Linked DNA regions of Homo sapiens: region 2 is linked to region 1. Evidence: promoter capture Hi-C in human tissues and cell types (Jung and others, 2019). All regions are on one chromosome and are shown on one strand. The core of a region is centred on a gene start or on the middle of the fragment in contact, and the rest is flanking DNA. Distances in the headings are between cores, read along the strand shown. Region 1 holds the start of SHROOM4 (shroom family member 4). Region 2 overlaps SHROOM4 (shroom family member 4).

What was found. The method cuts DNA at HindIII sites, captures the fragments that hold promoters and counts their contacts. A contact is called where the count stands out against the background at its distance.
Region 2: a fragment that was not itself captured here is called in contact with the fragment with the promoter of SHROOM4 in region 1 in 1 of the 25 tissues and cell types used here (hippocampus).

The regions. Positions count from the first base shown.
Region 1 is chrX:50,811,163-50,818,737 of GRCh38, reverse strand. SHROOM4 (shroom family member 4) reads left to right here and starts at 4,544. Exons shown (of 9, transcript NM_020717.5): 1 at 4,544-4,836. The coding sequence starts at 4,720. RefSeq lists an enhancer at 4,996-5,497. The HindIII fragment of the contact is 10,300 bases long and covers 1-7,575 here.
Region 2 is chrX:50,768,028-50,775,602 of GRCh38, reverse strand. The region is part of intron 1 of SHROOM4 (shroom family member 4); the gene reads left to right. Among named protein-coding and RNA genes, the nearest start is that of SHROOM4, 42 kb to the left of the region's middle. The HindIII fragment of the contact is 4,213 bases long and covers 2,177-6,389 here.

The DNA of each region.
Region 1 (7,575 bases), core at 3,295-5,794:
ATAAGCCAAAAACAGAAAGACAAATACTGCATTACTGCATGATCTCACTTATATGGCTGGGGGTGTGGGAAATGGAAAGATGTTGGTCAAATGGTACAAATCTTCACTTATAAAATCAATAAGTTCTGGGGATCTAACATGCAGCATAGTGACTATAGTTAATAATGCTGTGTTTTATATTTGAAATCTGCTAAGACAGTAGATCTTATGTCTTCTTACCACACACATGCAAAAAATGGCAGCTGTGACGTGATAGATGTGTTAATTAGCTGATTGTGGTAATCGTTTTACAATGTATGCCAATATAAATCATTATATTGTACATCTTAAAAATATACAATTTTATTTTTCAAATATACCTCAATAAAGCTGGAAGAAATGCTCATTGACAGATGAATGAATAAAGAAAAAATGTGTATTTTTTATATGAAATTGAATCTTATTCAGCCTTTAAAAAAAGAAGGAAATCCTGTCATATGAAATAACATGCATAAACCTGGAGGACATTATGCTAAGTGAAATAATGCAGTCACAGGAAGACAAATGCTACATGATTTCACTTATATGAGGTATCTAAAGTAGTCAAACTCATAGAAGCAGAAAGTAGAGTGGTGGTCACCAACAGGCTGGGTGTGAGGCGAGAGTTCTTGTTCAATTTAGGTAGATTCAATCGTGCAATATGAAGAAGTTCTAGAGATCTGGTGTACAACAATGTACATAAAATTATAAATACTGTTCTGTACAATTAAAAATTTGTTACGAGGGTAGACTTCATGATACGTGTGGTTTTTTTGTTTTGTTTGTGTTTTTTTTTGTTTGTTTTTTTGCTTTTACCACACACACAAAAAGAACAAATCTTGTCTTTTTCTAGAGCAAGGATATTTTTGTTTTTGTTTTTGAGATAGAGTATCACTCTGTTGCCCAGGCTGGAGTGCAGTGGCGCAATCTCAGCTCACTGCAACCTCCACCTCCCGGGTTCAAGTGATTCTCCTGCCTCAGCCTCCCCAAGTAGCTGGAAGTACAGGCGCGTGCCACCACGCCCGGCTAATTTTTGTGTTTTTTTTTCAGTGGAGAAGGATTTTCGCCATGTTGGCCAGCTGGTCTCCAACTCCTGACCTCATCCACCCGCCTAGGCCTCCCAAAGTGCTGGGATTACAGGCGTGAGTCACCACACCCAGCCTAGAGCAAGGATTCTGAAGCTAGGGTCTATAATCTCAGCCCAAACTATATATAGCATTGTGTGAACATGTGTAGCTTTCAGGGGGAGAGAGTGCATAGGTTTCTCTAGAATCTCAAGAGGTTCCTCATTCAAAAAGGAGTTAGATTAGATCCCACAGGGGAGGGAAAAATAAAATTTTTAAAAATGATAACAAAAACAAAAAAGCTACAGGCACTGCGATGAGGAAAATTGTATTCAAATTTGAGTTTAGAAAAAAGGTTCAGCTAAGGAAGTTTTAAAAAAAAAAAGCTCAGAGAAGGACTGCTATTTCAGTCTTCCTTCTTCCAAAAATGTAAACTTCTCAATAGCTTTTGAATGAATACAAGACTCCTGAGAGGAATGTTTAATGAGGTGGAAGTACCTAGCCTGGTTTTAATTTATCTCTCCCTGGTTGGCCTTTTGCCCACCTCCTGTGTCTACTCCCTTGTGGGTCTTTTGTTATCCTTCCTGACTTTTGAATATTAGCATATTTTAAATATTAGCATAATCCAGGATTCTACTTTCTGGGTGAGATTCTAATTTCTCTGAGTGAGATTATATACTGCAAATAATGGCTTCAGTTATCATCCAAGTGTGTATTATCAATCACCACCCCTTCCTTGATATGCAGTTTCCTATTTCTACCTGCCTAGTGGACTTTCCACCTTTTCCCCACAGGCAATTTAACATACTTTAGAATGAATTTATCATCTGTCTGATAGCTCCAGCGTGTGCATGCACTTTACACACACACACACACACACACACACACACACACACAGAGTAATATACCCCTCGAATGTTCTCCATTGCTTTCTTTTTACTTGGTTCAACTCTATCAAGATTTTGTTTGCACATATACTACGTTCAGGCACTTGCCAGGAAGTAGTCACAGAATTTGTAAACTGTAGAGGAACTTAAGAAATCAAGTCGCTCAACCCCTTCAACTTACAGAGAGTGGGGGTGACATGCTTAATATCCACAGTGAATTAATGGCAGAACTAGCTTAGAATCTAGGCATCTCAAGTTCTACCCTGTACCCTTTCCACTATGCAGTCATGCTACCACTAACTGTATACTTCCAAAGAAGAATGAGATGCCTGCTAGCAGCACTGATTTTTATCAATAAAGAAGCAAGATAATCTAGCCACCTTATGTTCAGAATATCTACTACTTATGCACTGTTTGTACAAGGGGCTAGGTAATTTATGTTCTGCTGTAATGATGAAAAGGATAAACTGAAGAGTGCAACAAGACATCATTGTAGAGTAAGGCTTGGAATGAAAATAGGTTAGTTAAAGACTAGCTCAGTGCTTGCTTTCATAATAAGGTTGTGAGAGGATTTTTACTTTTTCCTTACCAAAGTGTTTTCATATGTATTATTTCATCTTAGTCTCTCAACAGTCCTGGGAGGTAGGAAAGTCAGGGCTTATTAGCTAAAGTTTACAGAGGAAGAACAGGAGACTGAAAAGAGTTAGCTCAGTGATTTGCCCAAGGTCACCCATCTAGTTAGTGACAAGGCCAGGGCTCAGATGTGTGTCTACTGCTTCCAAACGTCTTTCCTCTAGTCTAGACACATAATTCTAATAGTCCTTGAGTGATGACTATATATCCTGTGAACTGAACTTTACAGATATGCTGGGACTGAAACACGCTGGATTCTACCAAGTTACAATCATAGAAATATTATCCGAAAAAGAAAAAAAATGCTGAGTTTCAAGGTGGGGCAGGGCAAATGAATGTTATAACATAGGTTAACACAAGTAAGAATCAACAAGTTGAGTTGCCATTTTATCAAATTTTCTGCTTTCAAATAAGGAAAATATAAAACAATAAACATGATCAAGACGGTGTTTGTAGGCCTAAAAGATCGAGGATGGTTTCCCATGTGCATCATCTCTAAGGACTTTAAAAAGGCAGGCTATAAACACCTAAATTGCCATTTTATTAAAGAAAAGTCAGGGCAGCATCATATATGCAGACAGTCCAGGGGGGTGCTAAGAAAAAAGGATTGATGGAGGGGGGTGACTTTGAGAGACATTTCAGTGGCCTGCTGCAGCACACCGCAGGCTGCTGTGCGTTGAAGAGGCAGTGACAGGTGAGGAAGTAGAAGTAGAGAGTGGAAACCTTGACCGCAGAAAGCTGGCTGTGAAGGAAGGGGCCGCAGTGTGTTTGTTGGCCATGAAGAAGAAGCTGCACAAGAACAGGGGAAGAAACTGAACAGGCGAGACAGAGTGGGAACATCCTGTTGAGTCACAACTGAGTTGTCAACACTTTCTCCGCTAGTGCGAGGCCCTTTAAAAATTCACTGCCCGCATGTGGCTCCAGAGAAAACACCTCAAAGAGAGAAGATAACCTGTCCAAGTGAAGGCAGAGAAATCAGCACAAGATTCAGTAACAAATTCGCTTTTCAGGACTATTATTGTGGCTGTTTGGTCTATTACAAAAGCCCAGCTCAGAAACTACAAGGTCAAGCTTGAACAGATGTGCAGAGATGTTCTGGACCCAGTCTAAAAGCTGATTCTTCCCAAAGGCACAACATTATTAATTGGCCAGCTTATCAATGGATGCTCTTTCCTGTAGGTTTGTTTAGAGACAATACTGCTAGTCATAAAGTTTGCTGATTGCTGGCTTGCTCATCTCGGTGGGGCAAGTGCAAGGCCGTGCCAGGAACTCCAGATGACTGGAACATACACAAGCACAGTGCTAGCCATAGACACCAACACTGAGCCAGGGTGCGGGGGAGCCCGAGCAGGGGGCATCCTCAAAGTGCTTCTTTATTTAAACTATGCTCTGGGGCAATGTTTCATAATGACCCCACACACCTAGCGCGTACACACAGAGCAGTCTACACACACAGCCTCACTATGTCCGCTGGCCTGCTGGCTTTGCTTTCCACCCCTCTAGGCAAGGTCCACAAATTAGCAGCCTTTTAACCCTCCCAGGTCTCCGTTCTCGGGACCTTCAGAAGAAAAAGGCAGTCAGAGAAACATGAACGCGCTAATCAGGAAACCAGCGTTTCAGCCCACTCAGCCACGCGGGCCGTCCACACTAACGACTTTCACCTCCCCTCGCCTGGGCTGGCTGGAGGGGCGGGGAACCCGGCAGTAAAGAGGAGGACCAAAGAGGGGCCCTGCTTGAATGAAACAATGTAACAATTGATGTGAGGCCTCGCCTCGCTCCCACTCCCCAGCGATCCTATAGGCGAGGTCCCAGTGACTGCCCCTCCCCATTGCTCCGTTTTCTTGTCCATTACGCGCTATCCCTCCGCCTCTCCTTCTTTCTTTTCTTTTCTTTTTTTCCCTTCTCCTTTTCCCCCCTCTCTCCCCCTTTCTCCAGCTCCGTGTCATTTCCTCCTTGCGCTCGCTCGCTGCCTGAGCGTCTCCAGCCGGGAGAGTAGGCGGAGCAGGGCGGTGCGGGGTGGCGTAGAGCTGGAGGGCGATGGTGGCGGAGCTGCTGGGGGCGGAGGCAACGTAGCCCCCTCGGAAAAGGAGCCCGGCGGCGCCTGAGCCCAGCCGAGGATGGAGAACCGGCCTGGGTCCTTCCAGTACGTCCCTGTGCAGCTGCAAGGGGGGGCACCCTGGGGCTTCACCCTTAAGGGGGGTCTGGAACACTGTGAGCCGCTCACAGTGTCTAAGGTAAGAACTGGCGGCTGATGTCCTAACGGCGCCTAACTTTGAATGGACAAGCGGGTGCGAAGGCTGCCGCTGGACGGGGCCCTCAGGCCAACTTTGAAACTTAGGGCTGGGAGCGAAAGACCCTCTGAGCGGCACGGAGGGGTCTTGCCACCAGTCCAGGTGCAGACATCCCCTAAGGGTGGCTGGAACACGAGCTGGGAGCACAACTGGCCCCCGGCTAGAACCTTGCGCGCAGACACACTCGCGAGGGCGCTGGGGCAGCCCTTGCTGCCCCACGTCGGGGCGGCTACTTCCCTCAGTTTGGGCCGAAGGAAGTGGAGGCTGTTGGGGATTTCTCCTTGGAGGCCTCTGCGTCCCTGCGGGACAGTGAAGGACTGAAGGGACAGTCATCGCGGCTTGGCAGCTCTCTTGGCAGCGTTGTCCCCTCTATCGACCGGCGGGCCGTCCCTCCCAGGCAGGTTGCAGGGCTAGGGGCTGGTGTGGGAACGGAGATGAGGCCATTGGTGGCTTTTGCCAGCCACACTTCCCACGGCCGGACGCGCACACATCCATTCAGCTCTTGGGGCGTTGTTGCCGCCGGTTCGGCTCGGCCTCTCCCTCCCTCCAGAGTCCTGCCCCAGCGCCGGCGAGATTTCCTGCACGTTGAGAAGTGTGGAGGAAACTTGCGCCATGGAGCGCAGCTGTGCTGGAGCTACTGCTGTTGCTGCTGCCGCTGCCGCCGCCGCCGCCGCCGCCGCCGCCACTGCCGCCGCCGCCGCCGCCGCCAGGGTTTGTTTGTTTTAGGAGTCTGTGATCTGCTGGAAGCCAAGTTGCAGCTGAGGACAGGAGAGAGGAGCTCTCCTGAGTGCTCCAGAACCCCCAAAGCGAGCCTCCCCCGTAGGGGTGAGGGCGAGGGGTAGGGGCAGCTGGAGCTGTTACCAGGAAGAGTGACTTGTGGGACGACTCACCTTGAGGTGCCAGATTGCCAAGTGAACGGACTTTACGAACTTTATTCCACTTTTTTGTTGTTTCTCTTAAATCCTCAAATCCGAAAAGCCCTCCCGCTTCCAACCCGCTTAAATGGCAGTTGAAGTTGTAGATGTGGGTTCAGGCTGGAGATAGAAAGATGTGTCTTTTCAGCAGGGAGCAAATATCACTTTTTTTTTGCGGGGGGGTGGGGTTCAACATTGGTCACATCTCAGCAGAGGGTTCAGCAAACGTCCACCGCAACACACACCCACAATAACCTGTGCGGCATTCGCCTTGCATTGGAGCCTGTGGTTGACTTCCAGTGTATGGGATCCTTCAGGCCTTGGGGCCCACACTCTTAGCAACCCTGGAGTGTTGCCATGGGTGTACCAATCAGATTGAGGAGTCTGAGGTATGCTGAGGCAACATTTTGAGGGGCTGGCAGGGACCCCTCTGATCATTAGCCTCCCCAAACTAGCCCAGATCTTCATCCAGCACCCTTTCCCCCATACTTGTCATGTACTTTAACCAGCCTGAGATGCGTTTGTCATCCACTGTCACAACCCCTCCTGAGGCAGTCTCCCTCCAGTGTTCTCTGGAGAAAGTTATATGCTTTTTTTTTTTTTTTTTTTTTTTAACAAAAACACTCAACTCCTTTGGTGAGGGGAATCCTGGCCTTCAGGAATTTCTTCTAATCAAGCTCCTCCTCTCCCCACTCTTTCCACCAAGGTCACAATGGGATATGCAGCCCTCCATGATCTGGCAGTTCCTCCCTTTCTTTTTCTCCTCACACCGCCCACAGAATTTCCACAGTCTGCCTAGACAACCTGCCTTGGAGAGGTCATTTTTCAGCTCTGCCCAGAGCTGACCCATCTTGAGAAGCACCCCAGAGAGTGCTTGCTGCTGTGGTCCCGGATTATTTTGTGAGCCAGTGAGAGCATGGCAGGGGGTGTTACTAAGTATGGGGCAGCCAGCAATTTGTGGTCTGGCTGGGGGATTATTTGAGAGGGTAGATGAGGGTTTCCTTGGCCAAGCTGTAGAGGAAGTGCTTCGTGTGTTGAGAGGCAGGGTGCCTTTTAATGATTCCCTTTCCACTGAATGTACAGTTGACCCCTATTATATGAAGGCTCATTATGACATGCATTTAGATATGCAAGGGATAAAATTATTTCTCCCATTCCTCCCAAATAGCCTAGTTCTTAACAGTAAAAGTCAGTTATAACTGGGTTGGCTTCAACGGTATATAAAGGGACCATAGTATTTTTTTAAGCACAATGATTGCCTGTATTGTGTTTTTCTTGACAAGACACTGTTTTGGCATATTTCATTAATTCCCTCTTCATTTTTCAACCTTGATTTTATTTCCTTTTATGATTCAGAACAATACAGCTTTCTCCTTGAAAACAGCCTTCTTAGTCTGTACACACTGGTTGGGATGGGTGGAAGGTAATAGAAAGATAATTGGGTTGGCAGATTAAAAACTTGGGTTCTAATCCTTTTTCTGCCACTCTCTAGTTCTGGAATCCTAGGTATATCACTTGCCCTACCTGGGTCTAGGCATCCCCATATCTAAAATGACATTCAAGTGGGTGGTCTTTAAATGATACTATGACAATCTAGTAGCCATGTTTTTGTTTGTTTGTTTTTGAGACAGGGTCTCACTCTGTTGCTCAGGCTGGAGTACAGTGGTGCCAGCTCGGCTCACTGCATCCTGTGCCTCCCAGGCTCAAGCAACCCTCCCACCTCAGCCTCCCAAGTAGCTGGGACTACAGGCACACGCTACCATGCTTG
Region 2 (7,575 bases), core at 3,034-5,533, 43 kb after region 1:
TCTCTTTGCTTGCCTCAGAGTGCCCCACCTCTTGGTCACTTGGGTGGGCGTTAAGGGCTTTCCATATCGAAGCCAAACATTCTTTCCAGCCTGTAATTCTTACCCCAGTACTCTTCCTGGAAGCTGGACTGTCTACTGGTTAACCCTTCCCCCAGACCTCCCTCTTTGTATTCATGCCTAGGATTCTTCGCTCCTGAGTATGATCTTTGATCCAAACTGAGCCTGACTCTGACCTCGCTTGCTGGGTGCTGATTATTTTTGTACCTCTGATCCATTAGGCATATGAGCTGTAGTGGAAAGAGCCCTTTAGATACCATTGACTGTCCTACCCAGAGCCCAATATCAGCCATTTCTAAGAAGCTAGGCTGCTAGTTAAGGTAGTTGACACTAACATGGCCCTAAAAATATTCTGGGCCCAAACTGGTATCTGCTGTCTAAACTCAGCATTTTGGAGGTCCCAACCAAGTATCCAGAAACTTGGAACAGATCCAAAGCAGCAGCATCAGGAGGGTGTTGGCACCACTTGCTCACAGGCCCTTCATCAGGAGTACTGGGAAGCAAGTGAGGAAAAACAAAAGGATTGTTCACATGGGGAGGGTAATTCAAGACATGAGTGTCAATTTAAGGAATGATTATATGACAAAAGTATATTCTGGCAAAATAATGTCAGAAATATCAGTTTTTGTGTTTTTAAAGTTTTTTTCCTTTTATAGTTTGCATGTAGAATCCAGTGCTCATAAATAGTTTGCCTCCTGATAAATTAGCTTGTTTCCTTTTATCAGATTAAGGTTCTGAAACCTATAGTGTTTGCCTTTGTGTCTTGGCTGCTGGGAAGCTCAGATCAAATTTGAACATTCGATGAACATATATGTAAACAAAAGGTTTCCTTTTTAAATAAAATAACCTCATTTTCTGTTTTTTTTTTTTTTCTAAATCTTTCTTTTAATTTTATGACCCTGTGACATCAGAATTTTTTTGTAAGGTGCTTCAAATCTTTTTGGATATAAATGGCCACCTGGTGGGTGAGGATTATAATCCTTAATTTTTGGCCATCCTGAGAAGTAAGCAAAAGTATTTGAGAAACTCCCCAGTCTCCCTTGAACAGGACAACATGCCCTTTGGGGAGAAGTACCTCTGCAAGCTTAGTTTAAGTGGGATAGAGGGAACTGTTCGTGGTCCTTGGCATTTTGCTTTTCAAGAGATGTATTCTCAAGTCCCAAGGTGTTTTTTTCTGAGATTAGATGTAGGTGGTTTAAGTGAAAAATAGCACATTTTGGACATGTCAACAAGAGTGTTGTTGTTGCCTAATACCATACTGAGACCCTAGAAAGGCTGGAGTGTCTTCTTCAGTGTGAACTCTGTAACCAATACATTTGTACATCTGATGAAAGGGAACCAGGCCCTAGCTTCCTTTATCAACTCCAAAAATGTAGCCCTAAAGTCCTCAGTTTGGGAATTCAAGGGGACAAGTGATGTTCATGTGGATGCCTTAGCACCTTGGAGACCTCCACCGCAAAAGTGGCTTATTTTGTAGGCTAGCCCTTCTTGCCTGTATTCAACCTCAAAAGAGAGATGACATTGCCTCAGGGAAAAGGTGTCACCATCATCAGGTTAATTTTTCCAAAGCCCATGTTTGATAATGTCATTTTTCTGTTCATCACTCTTCTTTGGATCTGCCTTCATGTTCATCTCCTCTGATCTATCTCACCGATGGTACCCTGGTCATTGCTTTTAGCTCAAACATAATTCATTTGCCAAAAAGAAAGTGCCTTTCATAAAGCTGTGCAAGAAGCATAGGCTTTAGTGTCAGTCAGACATAGTTTAAACCTTGGCTTTTTCACACTGAAGCAATGGGGGACAAACCTCTGTGAACTTGTTTCCTTACCTGTACAATGGGTATTTCTCTGATATGATTATTGTTGAGATTAGTATATTAAGGCATCATTTATAATTTACTGGTCATATGCTATTTATAGCATCATTATTATCTCATGTATTCTCTAAGTCATGTACTAAAATTAGCACATAAGACAAAAATCATGAATCGTTGAAACTCTTCCTGGAAATCTTTTGTATTGCAGTACAGTACTGTATCTGTTGTGCATAGAAGTCTATACAGTAATTCTCTAAGTTTGTTAACCTGTGAGCTGAACTAGAGAAATGAACAAATGGGAAGTATTTATGTAGGTGTCTGAATATTCAAACCATTCTAGCTCTAAGATGACCTCATGGTGAATAAGGGAACAGTGGAGAATTCTAGATGCTTTGTTTGTTGATTTGTTTCATTTTGATTTCATATTAGGTAGGCCTCAACCTTAAGCCATGTTAATAGGTTTGTGGTCGTGAAAACTTACATTGTATGTAAAGCACTTAGCCTGGTTTCTGTCACTACCAGTGAGGATTTAATAAAATGTTAGTTGTTATTTTTCGTAATGGTAGTATGAATAGTAGTAATAGTAGTACTCATAAGATATGTGACAGCACCTAACACAGAGCCTGGTACATAGTCATTGCTCAATAATGTTTGCTAGATTTGGTTAATTGGATCTATATGTTTACTTTCCATATTCTTTGTAAGTGTAGTAAAGAAGAATTTGGCAACCTGTTTTCTGTCTTCCCAAGTTTCCTGCTGTGGCCCCTTGGTCATTGGTCACATTTCAACTTGGAGTTTGTTCTCAAGTAAGCCTCTCAGGTGAATGGGCCTGTGATGCACTAAGGATCAGATTGCACATTATCTGAAGGCAGGGAGTCTGCCTTATTCATCTTTGTATGCCCACAGTTCCTAGCATATGATAGGTATTCAATGAAGGAATGGATGGATGGATGGAGGAAGAAAACGTTTGAATCAAACAAAGACTGTCTTTGCATTTGTGAGATTTAAGGGATGAAGGTTCAATTTGAGCTATTGCTGATTTTGGTCACCTGGGTTTTGGCATCAGGCTCTAATAGTGCTGCTTCCTTGAAACCTTGCTCTGAGCTAGAAACAGTTATGCTCTTAATGGGGTCTTTCTGGCGTAAGTAATCAAAAGTATAATAACTGGCTTTGATACATTGTTTTGAGCACTTCAAGGGAGAAAGGGCCCTAGAAGAGGAAGGTGGTAGAGCATCAAATAAGAGAATGAGATTTGGAGTCAACAGAAACCTCAGTTTACATCCTAGTTTTGTCACTTTCTAGCTGTGTGTCCTTGGGAAGTCCCTTAAACTCTCTAAGCTTCAGTGTTTTCTCATCTCTAATATGGGGACAGTATTACATACCTCATAAGTACTGTTATGAGATCAAAATATAAGTGTACTTAAAACCAAGGTACATAGTAACTGCTCAGTAAATGTTAGCTACTATTATTGTTGTTACCACATGTTTTCTCTCCTTTCCAAAATGACCGTAGCTTTATTGTTTTCCACATCATCAAAAGCAATAATGTTTGTTGATTTAATATTAACTTAGAAAATACACAGAAGTTTAAAGAAGAAAATTAAAATTAGCCACATTCCTACCTCCTAGAGGTAACAGGCATTGATATTTAGGTGTATGCATATCTCACACTTCATTCTTCCATGTTTATACACACACACACACACACACACACACACACATAAAAAACAAGGTCATATTATATGTAATGTTTTCTAGCCTATGTTTTTACAACTAACAATACGTTGCAGAAATCTTTTCAGATCTACAGAATCACTTTAATGGTATCACTGTATTACACTTTATGACTATATAAATACTACAGGTATTTTCACCAGTACCATATTAATTGACATTTAATTTGCTCCTAACATTTTGCTAATATAAACAGTGCAACAGTGGCCATTTGTGTACGTACACCTTTGCACACTTATCTGATTATTTTACTAAGAGATATTTATAGAAAAAGCAGAATTGTTAGGTCAAAGGGAATTAGTCACACCACATAATGGATTAATCTTTATTAAATGGCATAATGAATGGGAGGATGCTGTGTAAACTGTCAAGTGCTATGTAAGTATGAGTTATTGCATTGCAACTGTTATTGCAGGAGGCGTGGCAGACCAATGACCTTATGGGCTAGAAGAAGGCAGAAGGCTTAATTTCTCCCAGATTTCCATGAATACACCTAGATGAACAGATACACACAAATGGATGGTTACTGTTTATTCTAATGGATCTACATTTCCACTCCCTCTCCCAAACTGCCAAAATGAAGAAAGGTTCTTGCAATCTTGAAATTAAACAATTGTTTTTAAACATGGCTGCTTCCAGCCAAATGTTCAGATCTGTTTTTTGCCAACCACACAGTTTAGGAAAGCACTCGAATAGAGAAGCACAAGGTCTCCCAAGCTGCTTCTGCCTGAGTTGTTCTGCTGCGCTCTAGAGAACCAAGACTGAAGGCCTGGCTACTTTCTTTGTGTGTGAAGGGAGGGTGGGGAAGGCAGATTTGGGGAGAAATACCTTTTTACTAAGACAGGGGTGGTTGGTCAGTTCCAGCTTAAAGATACCTTGGTCACACCTTCAGTGGAGGCATTCAGCTTTCTAGTGAGCCTGACATTCCACAGAGTTCAGGCCAGTCTAGAGAGCCTAACTGACCTACCCACTCCTCTGGCTTCCTGTTTTTCTAGCAGCCAGAGTGCCTCTTGAGCGTAACTTTATTGTAAGCATTGTTGAGTAGGGGGAAGTGTGTGTTGAGAAGTCTTGAATCTGGATCTCCTCATCTAACAGCCTGCATTCTCTCTGACTTCAAAGGCTGGGCATTCATCCAAGAATGATGCTCTTGGCCTCTGCTAGAAGGTGGGGCCAGGTGTGGGAATGCAAACAGACTGGGGGCCTGTATGAGGGTGGAAGGCAGCAGGAGACTATGTGACCATGGAGAGGAGCAGACGCCTGGTACTTGGCCAGGCTCCACCTTACAAAGGGTGCTCCTTGCAGGAATGTTTTCAATGATGTCTGTCAGGGAGCTAGGGCTATTTGAACCTCTAAGTCTGAATTGGGTGATGTTTGCCATAAGCAGTAATAAGCATGGAAATAATTTACTCTGGGACCTTGACTGCATTAGTATGAAATCACTGGCATACTGATGGGGCCTATTGATCCTCAAACTGTTTCCTGAATTCTCTCTGCAAATCCATTCTTTCCTGTCCCAGCAAACCAGTTGTCACTGCTGACTGTGTATGTATGCTGCTGCCTTGAAACACAGTATGTTGGACTTATTCATTCACCTTTCTATCCAGGTCTTCAGCTCACTGAGCTGTGAAATTTCCCCCTCCCAATCTGTTTACTTTTCTTCTGACTTTGTTTGTAAGCAAACCTGTGTACATACCTTTTCATGTGTTTACATGTATTTCTTGGAATGCATGCTGGCTCCCCGAGGCTATTTGTAAGTCTGTGGCTCTTTTATATAAAGGGATGTATCTCCTCTGAGTGTACCTAGTCAGGCACTTCAATTGAGTGCAGTGGGGGTAGTCCTTGGGGCAGGGGAGTTGCTGTGCTGGAAGAGTGATTGACCCTTCTCTTGGACAGGAAGGCTTTGGTAAGACCTTAATTGAATTATGACTCTGGAGAACAGGGAAGCTTATCCACCATCATTGGGAAAAAGATGGAAGCTTACACTGACTCTGGAAGTAAACATCTTCTTTTTATTCCCCCCGAGAACATGTGGAATGAACTCAGATGACTAATGCAGTGTCTAGATTCAAAAGGGCCCTTCTGTTCAGGAAAGTCCAGGGCTTGAGATATGCAAGTGGGCTTAAGCAGAGGTTTTGAATGGTTCTTATGTTCCCCACCCTAACCCTAGACTCTAAGCCCTTCAAGAGTACGTTGTTATTTTTGCATTTCCTCACTGGGCCTTGTACAACACAGACACTTAATAATTGGTGAGTGGATTATTAAGGCAGAAGGGTAGACTGGTTGGCCTACTGAGACTATTGATGGCCCTACAGACTCCCACAGAACTCCACAGGAAGGAAGGCTTAAGCCCAGGAGGTCTTGTTTCCAGAGCAGGCCTTAGACAAAGGTCCCGCCCAACCCTACTCATGAAGTAATTGGCAGAATGGCTAGAACAAGTGAATGATTGTGCCATAATTAGTTTATGACCTGAGGGCATGCCAGTTTGTAGCCCTGCCAGTCTGCTAGCTGCCACCAGCACAGATATGCCTCATAAAAGCTCAAGCAACAAAGCTGTGGTCCTATTGGGCCTGCGACGCCTAATGATTCAGGCCTATGAACTGAGAGAAACTGAGCCAGTGTGTTAACATTTCCTGAACTGACCTTTTCTATTTTCATTTTATGCAAAAGTAACCTTTATATTTATTACAGCTGTTAATTCTTGCTTTAATTGTAATGCTTTTCTTTTTCCCTTTCTTTCCTTTTTTTCCTTCTTTCCTTCCTCCCTCCCTCCTTCCCCTTTCTTCCCTCCCTCCCTTTCTTCACTCCTTCATTCCCTTCCTCCTCTCCCCTTCCTTTCCTCTTTTTTTCCCCTCCTTCCTTTCCTCTTTGTTTTGGAGCTGGGAGAATAGTTAGAATAGGGCAAGAGGGAGCATCTGGCCCATTGTGTGACAATAATTGAAATCATTTCCTTCGGATCTGCTCAGGAAATGGCTCAGCCAACATCTCCTTCAAGTCTCACCCTCCTGGCCTGCTGCTGGCATGATTGTTTTCCAAATATTCTCTTCTAGTTTCCTGAGAGTTCAAGAAACCCAACCTTGGTAATGAGAAATCTATCAACCTGCCAACCTAATTCCTATAAATGTATACAAGACTGTTGATGCCAGACCTCAGCAGATCTGGATTCTGAAACTAGGTTTTGCTTCTGAGGTTCCATGAGTTCCTCTTTCCTTTCCTGCCTATCAACCTGCATTATATTTTTACTTTAGATGCTCAGCATATGTAATCTTTGGACCCATTAAAGTTGAATTAATAATGTATACACTATTTGTTGCTGACAAAAGCACTAAGCAGCTCACGTTCATAGGTGGGGGAAAAGATTTACAGATTCCTGAATACAGGTTTTACATATAAGAAATAAAGCAATTTACAGAATGACCAAACTCGAAGGATGGCTCCCATTTAGTGATTTCTTTCAGAACTATAAGGATTATTGTTTCCAACATCATACAAGCAGACTTAACGCCCTTAGCCCCATCCAGGGAATAGACCTAAGGTGGGAAATTCTTCACTTTTTATATCTTCTTCTCATCACAGCCAAGTTTTCAAAGCTTAAATTTCTTCTGAGTGTTTTGTTTTGTTGGTTGTGTGGCTCAAAATGAAGGTATCCTTCTCTTTTAACATTGCCAGCAATCGCTTTACCCACCCAGAATGTTCTTATTTCTATTTATTTTGAAATGCTTTTAATGTGTCCACTGACTTCTTTGGTAGGAATGGTATCCAAGTCTTTCACAAAAAGGCTCTAATATGTTTATATTAGCCTCTATATCTGGGGACTACTTTGATTTCATTTTTGAAGGCTAATCATGTATGGCCTTAAGTAAAACCTCCAACTTAGAACCAACATTTTGTTTTTAAAAAGTAAGTTTGAGATTGAGTCCTTGATGAGAATTATGACTGTGTAATTTTCACATATTTGTGAGATTCAAGCA